Linked DNA regions of Homo sapiens: region 1 is linked to region 2. Evidence: promoter capture Hi-C in 16 types of primary human blood cells and fetal thymus (Javierre and others, 2016). All regions are on one chromosome and are shown on one strand. The core of a region is centred on a gene start or on the middle of the fragment in contact, and the rest is flanking DNA. Distances in the headings are between cores, read along the strand shown.

Region 1 (6,257 bases), core at 2,226-4,725, 240 kb before region 2:
TCCTTCTGTCATGAAATGCTCAGTGCCCACGCACGGTCCATACTGGGGTTTGGTACCGTCCACCTACGGATTAAAAACGTTCACGGATATCTGCTTTCAAAACACCCAGGCCGGTCTTGTCGGCAGAGCCGGTCTCAGGCCACCTCCTCTTTTCCGAGGTAGGTGAGACTCTGGGAAGGGAAGGAGCGAAGGAGGCAGGCTTGGAGCCTTGACCACAGGGAGGAGGGGAACCTGCTCCTGGATGCGCCGGAGCCCAGCCCGGCTTGTGGAACGAGGCTGCAGGAGCCTGAGATCGGGGACTGCCGGGCCTGCGCCACGGAGGGTCCCCAGGGGGACGGGACAGCCTTCCTGCCTCTTCCAGCCCCTGGCGCTCAGCTTTGCCTTAGCTGTGGCCTCATAACTCCAGCCTCTGCCTTGGTCGTCATGGCCGTGTCTTCTGACTTTGGATTTAGGGTCCGTCTTGATCCGGTATGACCGCATCTCAATGACGTCGGCAAGGACCCTGTTTCCAGGCAAGGCAGCTTTTTGATATTTGAGTGGTCGGAGGCACTGTTTAGCCACCTTGCTGCCTCCTCGTAGGACTGAAGGGCATTTTTCCCTTGAGCAGGAGACTCCACACACGCGGACACTGACGTTGAGCCGCAGGGCTGGTCACTGTCCCCGTCCCGTGGCACCGCACGCCAGGGCCCGGCACCTTCTGCCGTGGGTCACGTGGCCTTGGGTCCGGCCCCTGCCAGAGGCTGGGGCCCCAGGGACCCCTCTGGGCTAGAAGGTGCTGCTGACACAGGCGTTTTTAGATAAGCAGGAAGCTCCTGAGAGGAAGCTTTATTTTTACTTTGTTCCGGCCTCTGTGGTTTTTGGAGATGGCCTTTAAAGATTTGTTTTCGATTTTATCTTTAAAGAAGATGCAGGAAAGCCCATGGGTCAGGCTCCAGAAGAAATATCCGGGAGGAAGGCCCTGAGCCTGGGACGGCGGGGCCAGGAGGAGGCCCCTGAGCCTGGGAGTGTAGGGCAGGGGCTGCAGGGATCCCAGGAGGAGGCGCTCCCGGCCCCGCATGGCCCTGTGTCTGCAGTCCCTGCCTGGGCCTGTGGGCCTGCTGTGTGGTGGTCCTGGGGCAGGGCTCACAGAGCCTCACTCCCCAAAACCCCAGCCTGTGTCCCCGAAGGGCCCCCTCTCCTTAGAGGGGTTTAGTCCCACCAGGTGGGTAAAGTTGGCCTGCGTTGCTGGGCTGGTTTCAAGGGAGGGCTCTGCCCACCATCATCACGGGTCAGGAAAGCCCTGCCGAGCCCTCTGTCCTTCGACTTCTGGCCCAGCGAGGCACCTGGAGCACCCCGTGGCTGTGTTGAACGTCACAGAGGCTGCCGGGCACGTGGGGACGGGGCCCGCTGGGAACAGGTGTGGGGGCCCCAGCTCTGACCAGCGGGTGCCTGGGAGGGGGGTTCTCCTTGGACAAGAGCTGCCTCCAGCCCCTTGGTCCAGAACCCCTTGTGCCACCCCGGCACCCTCCGCCCTGTGAGTTTTTTCCCTCTGGGAGACGTTTACTTTCCTGGCAGTTGGCCAGCGTGGCACTCACAGAAAAGGCCAGGGCAGCCCCTCAGCCCCTTTCCTGAGGCCACACCGCCCTGAGAGCAGGGTGCGTGCCCTCAGCAGAAGCAAGGACCAGGGCCTCTCCTCCCGGCTGGGGCCCGGGATTCTGAGACCCATCTCTAAGGCCAGGGCAGGGCCGGGGCGGGGGACGTTTGTTAAATTTTTAGGAAAAAAAAGCAAAATCAACACAGAAACAAATGGATGAACCTGCCAATGGGTGGGGCCTGTGGACTCTGCCCCGGCCCTGCTCAGGGCCCTGTGGCCTCAGCTCCTTCCCTGGTGAGACACCCACCCTGCCCCATGCCACCAGTGGTATGACGCAGGGGAGGAGCAAGACGGGGAGGGGCTTGGGGGGAGGGGCGTGGGGGGGTGGAGTGTGAGGGGGGAGGGGGTATGAGGCAGGGGAGGAGCATGAGGGTGGGGAGGGGGTGGGGTGGTCAGGGTGTAGGGTGAAGGCGTGAGCCACAGTGCCCGGCCTCTCTCTTTTTTTTAGAGCTGGGTCTCACTCTGCTGTCCAGGCTGAAGTACAGGTAAGATCGTGGCTCGCTGTGCTCAAGTGATCCTCCTGGCCTAGCCTCCCAAAGTGCTGGGACAACAGGTGTGAGCCACTGCGCCCCCCTCCAGGTTTAGCTGTGGGATGTTTGGGCTTTGAAAGGAGCTGATCTGACGGAGCCAGGAGGGCTGGCTGCAGGACAGAGACAGGACGGCTGTCACAGCAGCCTCTGCCCCCAGCCGGTGCCCTGTCCTCGCCGTCTCTGTCCAGGAGGTCAGAGCAGTAGCACCCGCCCCGCCCCGTCCACCCTGTGGATCCTCAGCCCATCCGCCACCCCGCCCCGCCCCGCTCCGCCCCATCCACCCTGTGGCAGAGGCTTTTCATGGCAGCTCCGAGAACAGGAGGACAGTCACCTCCAGCATTTGCTCTGAGTCTGTTCCCTGGCGAGGTGAGGCCCCAGCTGTTTTAGCGCTCATAAAAATTTACGGCCATCACAAGGGAGCTCAGCTGGGTGGATCACGGTGTCGGGGCGGCGCCCCTGTGAGCTACCTTTTGTGAGCCGCTCCGGACACTTTGGCTCCGGGCTGGCATCTCCTGCCACCCTCATGAGAGCAGTGGCTGCAGCCCCCGCCTCTTGGGCTGGCCCTGTCATGGCAGCAAGGGCTCTGCGTGTGTACGGCCGCCCCCTGCAAGTGTGCTTGTTAACGGGGACTGTGAGGAACTGTGGGGGACTCAGGGCACGGGGAACCGGGGTCGGGCTGAACATTACTCCCTACTCTGAAAGGACAGCGTTGGGACAATGTGGCCAGGCTGCGTGAGGCTGAGTGGGGCAGCATGGCCAGGAGGGGCGAGGGGAGGGGGTGCGAGGCAGGAGGCTGGAAGTAGGGAGAAGGGGTGTTCCACTCACCATCACCCATCCCACCAATCTCGCTCACAAATCCCTGTAGTCTGCAGTGGCTGCCTCTTTATTCCTGGAACAGTGGCTTGGGTTGGGGTCTGCGTCTTGGATGGGGGAGAGCAGGGGGCTCATGCCCGGGAGCCCATGGACAAAGGCACCTGCTCCATGGTAGAGAAGGTTCTGCCCCAGCAAGGGGGCCGTCGAGCGGACAGCCCAGGGCAGCCACATGGGGAGGCTGGGTTGGGGACAGCAGCCCCGGCGCCTCTCCCGGAGAAGCAGCCTCCCCAAGCTGTGCCTGAGCCGAGGGCACCGTCCAGGTCATCTCAGCCAGAGCCTTGGCCGGGTCTAGGGGAGGGGTCACGCCAACGTGATGACCTCCTGGCAGCTGTGTGACTTGAAGGTTTTCAAGCAAAGGCTGAATAGCCCGGAGAACATCCACACACCCAGGCCCAGGGTCAGCCATTTCGGCAACTTGCCCATATGTGTTTTACACGTTACGCACATGCCTTTGTGTTTTCTGCCCACCGTTTTGAAGAAAGCAGCAGACACTGTGACTGTAAATACTTCAGCGTCTCCCGACGTGGGGACACTCCCATTAGAGAACAAATCCAGTGAATTAGTGAACAGGTGCATGCATTCAAACACGAATCTGTGCTGGCCGTGGTGGCTCACGCCTGTAATCCTAGCACTTTGGGAGTCTGAGGTGGGTGGATCACTTGAGGTCAGGAGTTGGAGGCCAGCCTGGCCAACATGGCAAAACCCCGTCTTACTAAAAATACAAAAATTAGCTGGGTGTGGTGGCGCAGGTCTGTAATCCCACCTACTCGGGAGGCTGAGGCAAGAGAATCGCTTGAACCTGCAAGGTGGAGGTTGCAGTGAGCTGAGGTCATGCCATTGCACTCCAGCCTGGGCAACAAGAGTGAAACTTTGTCTCAAAAAAAAAATTAATTTAACAAGAGAAGTGCAAGACTTGTACACTGGAACTACACTGGAAAGAAAGAAAGGTCTAAATAAATGCAAAGACATCCATGTTCATGGATAGGAAATCTTAATATAGCTAAGATGAGAATACTTCCCAAATTGATCTACAGATTCAACACAATCCGTATCAGAATCCCAGCTGATTTTTGTGTGTGCAGAAATGGACAAGGTGACTGTAACGTTCATATCAAATTGCAAGAGATGGCAGAGAGCCAAAATCATCTTGAAAAGGAACAAAGTTGGAGAATTCAAATTTCCCACTGAGGGATAGTGGCTCGCGGGGCCTGTGTACCAGCCTGGTTGTCTTGGCAGAAGTTTGGCATTTTGATACGCCTGATGCTTTCCTGTGCCGTCTGCCTCATTCCTCACTCCTTGAGTTTCCTGTGGGCTGGGGTTGAGGGGGTTCAGCCCAGTCTCCACCCAGCACCCTCAGCCAGCTCGTCTGTGCCGTCTGCCTCATTCCTCACTCCTTGAGTTTCCCGTGGGCTGGGAGTTCAGCCCACAGTCTCCACCCAGCACCCTCAGCCGGCTCCTCTGTTGGGTGCTGTGTCTGCGTCTCTGCATTGTTCCACCGACACCACAGCTGCACTTGTCCCTGTGATGGGCCCAGGCTGGGCTCCTCTTGCCCTGTGGTCTCCGATTCCTATTACCTGTCACCAAACAGTTCGCCCCCTTGGTGGTCCTTGCCTGAGTCACCATGGGTAGCAAAATGGTTTCTTCTAGAACTTTTGTGGCCGTATTATTACAGACTTGTCTTTAGTAGGGGCAAAATCCCATCCTCACGTCCCTCACCAAATTAAATGGCTGTCCAGACTCCATGTGGACTGTGACCCTGGGCCTGTGGGACCAGACTGGCCTGGGGAATGGGCATGACTCGTGTTGTGGAGGGAGGTGGGGAGTGGAAGAGAGGATGCCCTTCCATGTGTGGCCCGCCCTGCCCTGCCCTCCCCACACAAACTCCCTGGTTTCTGCCTGTGCCAAGCCATGAGCCTCCAGGAGGGCCTGGACTGGGGGAAACCAGTCTGGGGGCTGCAGCCCCCTCAGGCCCAGCTTCAGAGGACCCCACAAAGTGATGGGCCTGAAGGGGAGGGGGAGGGCATCTGCCTGCTCTGCAGACCCCAGGCCAGGCCAGGGGCTGGGCCAGACACAGGGGCTGCTTCTGGGCATGACCCCCCCCCCCGACCCCCCGCCCAAGTGAGGTGGCTGTGTGACCTTCGTGCTGGGCGTTTGTCTGGGACACAGAGCTGTGGCCTCCCCCACTGTGCAGCGATGGCCGACCTGTCTCTTGAGACCGTCTGTCCCCTTCTGAGCCCCTGGGAATAGTGGGGTGAGTTACCAGCCACACAGCTGCATGGCTGGACACTTCTCCCCACACCTCAGCCTGAGGCCCTGTGCTGGAGCACCGAGGATCATCTGGGCGGGAGCTGCCTGCGGCCTGTGGGTGCCTAGCTGTGCATCTCTGGGACCTGGAGGGAAGGATAGCTCAGAAGGGGCTTTTCAGGGGTGACCATGTAAGGCAAATTAAGGAAAGAGGGTGAACAGGGAACACTCGAAGATGAGAGATGCCTTTTCTCTTTGAGCATGTGTGAGAACATGCTAGGGTGGTCTGGAAGGTCTGTAATGGGGGTGGTGCTGGGTATTGCCCTATTGGGGGTGCAGCCTCCGCTTCACAGGGCTCTGCACCAACAGGCCCAGGTCCTCGTGGGGCCTTTGCTTGGGCAGCTATGGGCACAGTAGCCACATGTAGGGGGGCCTCCCCAAATGGAGCCTGCAGGGTTTGCAGTGGTGAGTCCTCAACCGCTAACATAAAATGCACATATTTTAGGTTATAACTGGATGAGTTTTAACAAATGTGACACCAGTAACCCACAGCTCGGTCAAGACAGAACACTCCTTGGTCAAGACAGAACAACACCCTGAACATTCCTCATGCCTCTCCCCAGGTAACCCCCCCCACAGAGGGAACCGTTGTCCTCATGTGTGTTTCAGGATAGGTTAGTTTCTCCAATTCTGAAACTTGGTGTAAACTTTCACTCCGTCAGTGCCTTTGGCGGCATCCATGTTGCTTTCTTTTTTCTTGCCTTATTACTCTGGCTAGCAAGTCTAGTGTGATATGGAATAGAAACAGTGGGAGTGGCTGTCCTTGTCCTGTGCTTGATCTTACAGTGAAGCTTTCGGTTTTTCCCCATTAAATAGTATGAGGGCTATGGATTCTGTAGATGCCTTTTATTAGGCTGAAGAAGTTTCCTTCTCTTCTTAATTTGCTGAGTTTCTATTATGAATAGTGTTGAATTTTG
Region 2 (6,095 bases), core at 3,132-5,631:
CGGTCCCCTCTCCAGGGACCCCACCCTAGCTGTGACCTGTCCCACGGCACCTGTACCGTGACACCCTCCTTGCTGTCCATGTGGCTATGAGGGCTGCCCTTTGCACGTCCATTCCCGAGCCCCAGCCCTAAAGCAGTGCTGGGCTCACCAGGCCCCTCTGTGGACGCCGCCTCTGTCTGTGCGGTGGGATGTTAATAGTCTCCGCGTCATGTGGCTGTTAATTTTGGAAGCTCGCCCCCTTCCTCCTCCCCCCGCTATGGTCCTGCCTTCACACCCCGCTGCCTGAGTCAGCGCCCACGGCTGCACCAGATGCTAGGTTTGGCCCCAGCTGAGGGGCTGGTGTCGCGCACGCAGGCAGGGGGCCTGGTAATGGGGCTATACCATCTGCATGAACGGCTTTGCTACTTCCCCCTGCCCTGCCCAGCACAGGCTGAGTCCACAGCCCAGACAGCAGTGCCCCGAGAGCTGCCTGGCACACCCCGGGAAGAGGATGAATCTTGCCGTATGGGGAGGCTTTGGCCCCGAGAGCTGCCTGGCACATCCCGGGAAGAGGGTGAATCTTGCCGTATGGGGAGCCTTTGGCAGGAGTGGGGCTGCCTGGTGACCGCGTGAAGCACCTCCCGGGATGAACCAGGGCCCTGCCAAAGCTGAGGCTGGGCCGGGACTCCTGGGGCCTCATTGTCTGGGATGAGGCGGGTCCCAGCTGGGCTGCGGCAGGGGCCAGGAGGTACCTGCATCTGCCCTGATCTCCCTCCTCACACCTGCAGAGCCCCTCCACTCACTGAAAAGCAGGGTGTCCTGGGTGGGCCCCGGCCTGAGCATCCAGAGACTCAGCTCCAAGCCAAGCCCTTTACCCTCTCTGAGCCTCAGTTTCCCCATCTTCAAATGAAGATGCCCAAGGAGAGCAGGCCCCGCCCCCCAGCTGGACCTATCAGAGTGCACAGAGGTGCCCAGGAGAGCAGGCCCCGCCCCCCAGCTGGACCTATCAGAGTGCACAGAGGTGCCTAGGCGAGCAGGCCCCGCCCCCCAGCTGGGCCTATCAGAGTGCTGCTGCAGGCCTGAGGCCTCACCTGGGTGGTACAACCTGCTGGCGGAGGAAAGAGCTGCCGTAGCCCAGGTGGGACTGGGGGGTCCCCATGATCCCCCAGGAGGGTGGGGGTCTTGTGTGGGAGTCTCTCACCAGCTCCAGACGCGGTTTCCAGGGCATATTCACTCAAATTCCTCATCCTCACCTTCCCCCAAGTGCAGGCCCGGCAGTGGCTTCTACCTGGGGCTGGGAGGGGGCAGGTCTTTGGTGCTCATGGGACGTCACTCCACACTGGGCACTGGTCCAGGTGCCAGGGGACAGAGTGGGCACCCCAGCGGGTTGTGTGGGTGAGGGCCTCAGCACTGCCCCCGCCTCCCATCCTGAAGGCTGGAGTAGCCTGGGAAGCTGCATTTTAATGAGCACCCCATTTTAACAGAGTGCCCACTGAAGCTCGAGACCACGGCCAGGAGGGTCAGCCAGGGCCCCAGGGGCGGGACTCAGGCCCCTGCAGAAGGCCCCATCCTTGAAACCCTTTGAGGGTCTCCCTGTTTCTGTCTGGACCCCGGGCCACGCTCTGCCCTTGGCAGCTGCAGCCTGCATCTCACTCCAGACGCCTTGGTGGGAAGCCCCTGCTGCCGGGTCCCCAGGCTGGAATCCGCAGGATGTCAGGGCACCCTGTGCTCTTGGGGACGCTCTGCGGTAGCTCCCTGAGGCTCTCAGACACCAGGACACCCTCCCAGCCCAGTCCCAGCAACACATGCCGGCAGCGCCTGCGCCAGTGTTTTCTTCTCCTGTCGGGAGGCTGGTGACCCGCTGTGCTGCCCCGGTGGGGGGCTGATCTCTGACCTCCTGTCTGGCGGGCTGTGCTGCACCAGCCAGGGCCGGGAGGTGCACGTGGACCCGTGTTTATTGGAATCCTGCTGTGATCAGACCCGGGGGCGACGTCGAGACCCACCAGGCCCCGTGGCCTCCTGTGAACATCTGCAGGCTGTTGGGGGCAGCGGTCGACGGAACAAGTGTGGGGCGGCCCGGGCTTCCCGGAGGAAGCGTTGCTTGAGCTGCCAGGGGAGTTACCTGCAGAAAGGGAGGTGGGGTGCACCAGGCAGGGGGGCAGCCAGGGCAAACGCCTGATGCTCAGAGGGTGACAGTGGGCAGCGGGGCCCTTTGGAGGAGCGGAGGGAGGGCCCTGTTGGCTGCAGGGCAGAGTGCCCCACACTCCTCCTGGCCGCCACCCCCAGGGCCCAGCCCAGTCTGGGGACTAAGACGAGAGGCCTCTGGGGTGTTCCAGGTGAGCTGGAGTCAGCCCCTGTTGCTTTTGAATAATTACAGGGGAGTCAGCCCAGTGACCAAGCCTCTGCCTGGTGGGGGAGGGGCACGGGCTTTGTGTCCGGGAGCTGCTGTCCTCAGCCTCAGGAGAGGGGGTGTCACGGGCCGTGGGACAGGTCACAGTTAGGGTGGGGTCCCTGGAGAGGGGTCTGAGGACCGTCCCTGCGGAGTCCATCCAGCCACCATCGGTTGCCATGGCTACTGGCAGCCCCTAATCCTCACGGTGCTGGGTTTGACCTCTGCAGCGTCCCAGGCGGGCATGACCTCATTTGATCCTCCTGGGGTGGGTGGGACTGAGGCCAGGGGACTCCTGCCCAGAACTCAGGGTGGCCGATGTGGGGAGGGGCACTGTGGGGCCGACAGGTCCCCTCTCTGGCCATCAGGCCCCCAGGAGGGCCCAGGTGCTTGGAGGTGGGGGGTGTCCCAGCTTGATGTTGGGGATGTGAGTAGATCCAGCGCCCACCCACCCGCAGGGCTGAGCTCCCACTGGGCGCTGGGCCGTGACTCGCACACCGGACCCTGCACCCCTGGGGCACCCAGTGATTCCAGAACAGTGGGACCCCAGAGGCTTCTCAGGGAGCCCCAGAACATGACAGATGGGGGCCCAGGTGCGAGGCAGTGGGAGCTGGAGGAACACAGCCAGGGGCTGAGGCGAGAACCATGAGGATGGTGGGCAGAGGCTGAGGGGAGGGGCAGCAGATGGAGATGGGGGAGGCGTTAGGGGTCACAAAGGGGGTTCTCAGAGGATCTGCCTTGGGAAGCCACTGCTGTGGGAGGGTGGGAGGGATACAGCCCAGGTACCTCCAGAGAGGATGGAAAGGCTTATGGGGCGGATTCTGGGCAGGGGACCTGGGACCAGCCTGCAGCCTCCCCTGAGGGCCTGGCCATGGCCGCAGGCTGGGGAGGAGGGGAGGGGACCTTGGGGCCAGGTGCCATGGTCCTCTAAGCACTCTTGCTCGATGGTAAACATAACACGCGCTGCTTGCAGAACATGTGGAAACACTGAAACGCTTAAAGGAGAGAACATGGTCCCGGTACCCGGCCTTCAAGGGAGCTGCTGGCGCCTGTTCAACAGGAGCCGACCCCACCTGTGAACAGACGGCAGGCGGCTGCTCCCATGTCCCCTCAGAGAGGGGCCCTCCGAGTTCTGCTGTCACCTGGGGGCGCCTCACTTCATTCAGCCAGTGGCGGGGCTCCCTGGGTCGGCACAGAGTCAGGGGAGGGGGCTGGGGGACCTCCTGGTGGGAAAATGTCCGGTGATCCCCAGCCTCCGCGCTCAGCGGGAGGAGGCGCTCGGTCCCGCTTCTTACAACCAGCGGCGCTCACGGCGGGCCCGGGGATCAGCATCCCGGGAGCTTCTCAGGAATGCAGATTCCCAGGCCCTCACTGCCTGGGGAGTCGGGGGCCCAGCTCGAGGCCCAGGAATCTGCTTTGAGGACCCAGGTGACTCTGCTGCCTGCCTGAGAACCCCACCTTAGGTGAGGGACTAAGGTGTACCCATGGATTCATTTCAGGGGAAATAAAAAGAACAACTTAGCAGGTAGTCTATGCTTAAATATGTGTAGGATCCACAAATAAGGCATGGATAAAACCCGAGTGGAGTGTCCTGGAAATCCCACGACCACGGACCCCCCTCGCTGGGGCTGCCTGCCGCCCCCACCAGCCTCCACACACCCACTTATCTCCACAACCCCAGCCCACCCCTCAGAGACGTCTGCAGAGCCCCTGACCCTCTCCCCTTGAACAAGGACCCTCCACCCTCTTCAGACTCTCGACGAGGGACCCCCTGGACTCCTGCTGGCGGCAGGACCCCCACCCCAAGCTGGGGTCTACCACAGAGCGGACAGCAAGAAAATAGGGTGGGGGCGCAGGCGATCATGGGGTCACTGCCAGTGGGACCAGGGCTGTGGGCGAGTGCGCCAGGGTTCCCGGAGGCCAGACGTGGGACCCGGGAGTCGAGCAGGTGAAGCGGCCCTGCCCCGCCCCCACCAGGCACTGCCCCGCCCCCGCCCCGCCCCGCCCCCTCCCAGCCGGCGCCCGGGAGCCCGGAGCCAGTGCCGCGCGGACATCGGGGCTCCCCCGTTCAGAGGGCGCCGCCGCCCAGGTGAGTGCCGCCCGCCCCTGTCCCCCTCCCGCGCGGGCACCCCCTGCCCTCGGCTGTTATCCCCACTGGGGGTTTCACCCTGTGTGCGCAGCCCCGGCCCGGGGTCCCGCCGTGCGCCCCCAGCCCGCTGCACGCACTGTCCCCCACGCGCCCTCCGCACACCCGCGGGGCTCTCCTGCCGCCGCCGGGGGTCCCTCCCCTCCCGTTCCATCCACTCCCAGCAGCTCCATCCCTCCCATCTCCTGCCCCCACCCCACAACTCACCATCTGCAGGCACCCCGTGTGCCAGGGTCAGCCCAGAAGCCACAGGGGACCCAGATGGCCCCACTCTGCCCACCGCGCCGCTCCCGGCCTCTCCTCCCCACGACGGGGGCCACAGCGGGGCTGGCTCCTGGAGCTGGAGGAGGGTGGGTAAGGCTGGGGAGGGCTCGGAGCCTGGGGCTGGGGGCCGGAAGTGGCACTCAGGCCACAGGGAACCACTGGGCCACGGAAGGAGGGTCCCAGGGTGCCCGTGGCACCCAGCGAGGGGAGGATCCGCAATTTGGGTGCCGGGGGAGGCAACTGGTGCCTGCGCGCAGCTGGGTCGGTGAGCTCCTGGAAGGCAGCAGGCAGAGGCCAGCACCCAGGGGCCCTGTGACCTGGCACTCACAGATGGGTTCCCTGAAACCCAAGACTGGGGAGGCTGGGGTGCCACCCCGCCCGCTGCGAACAGAGCCCCCTCCTGTCCAAGGCACCGCGTGTACCTGGAATCCTCCTGGCGTCTTCACCCTCTCCAGAATAGAGAACACGCCACTGGGGTGTGTGCCCTTGGCCCTCCTCCCCCACCCCAGACCCACCCACGTGCCCGACCCGCTGTCCCCAGCCTGCCAGCCTGCCTGGGGCCCCCTCAAGGGCAAGAGAGCGGAGTGCATGGTGACAGAAGTTGGGGATGGTTCCAGTGAGGCTGAGCCCTTTCTGAAGGCAGTGATTCTGGACTATGTAGGTGGGGACTGCCAGAGCCTCCTGGGCAGAAACTGGTCAACAGCACCAAGGACAGGCGCCTGGCGTTGATTTCCAGAGCAAGACCCAGCGAGGCTGTCAGGAGGTGCCTGGTGTGGAGGGTGCCCCGAGAAGCGTTCGCGGAGCACGCGGGACCCCTGCTGCTGCTGCTCCAGGCTGGCCCACACCTGCCTCAGTTTCCCTCTCCTGGGGAGGGTATGTGCCCCTGGCCACAGGCTGCCGCAGGGACAGGTGGCGTGTATGTGGGGGACAGGCAGGGGTGCCATTGGCTGCACTCACAGAGCTGGACCCCAAGGGGGCAGTGGCCTGCCACCAGGCCACCCTTACGACAGAGGAAACAGGTCAGAACGCTTGTCCTGGGAGCACAGGCCTGGCTCCGGGGCCTTTGGAGGGGCTGGGGCCTGTAGTCTTAGCTAGGGTGTCCCCCGACGTTTGCCCCTGCCCAGCACACAATGGAGGAGCCCGGGTGGGTCTGCAGCCTCTCCAGGGTGCGGCGTGGGCCCCGGCCGTGTGAGCCGCTGCCTCCCCGAGCAGCAGGTTCCGCAGCCCCTCCAAGCTGCAGCCGCATCGCTGCCCCCCATGAAGGAGCCGACTCCCCGACCTCGTGCTGGGTTAGCCTGGAAGGAGTTGGCAGGGTGC

The links. Contacts are between HindIII fragments. The CHiCAGO score rates a contact against its expected background, and 5 or more counts as called.
Region 1: a fragment that was not itself captured here is called in contact with the fragment with the promoter of SSTR5 in region 2 in 4 of 17 cell types (M0 macrophages, M1 macrophages, endothelial precursors and 1 more); the score reaches 9.6 in M0 macrophages.

What each region holds. Positions count from the first base shown.
Region 1 is chr16:830,375-836,631 of GRCh38, forward strand. No RefSeq gene overlaps it. Among named protein-coding and RNA genes, the nearest start is that of GNG13, 33 kb to the left of the region's middle. The HindIII fragment of the contact is 5,308 bases long and covers 822-6,129 here.
Region 2 is chr16:1,068,366-1,074,460 of GRCh38, forward strand. It overlaps SSTR5 (somatostatin receptor 5), which reads left to right and starts at 4,382. Exons shown (of 2, transcript NM_001172560.3): 1 at 4,382-4,457. The region is part of intron 2 of SSTR5-AS1 (SSTR5 antisense RNA 1); the gene reads right to left. RefSeq lists enhancers at 1,417-2,173, 3,142-3,883. The HindIII fragment of the contact is 34,423 bases long and covers 1-6,095 here.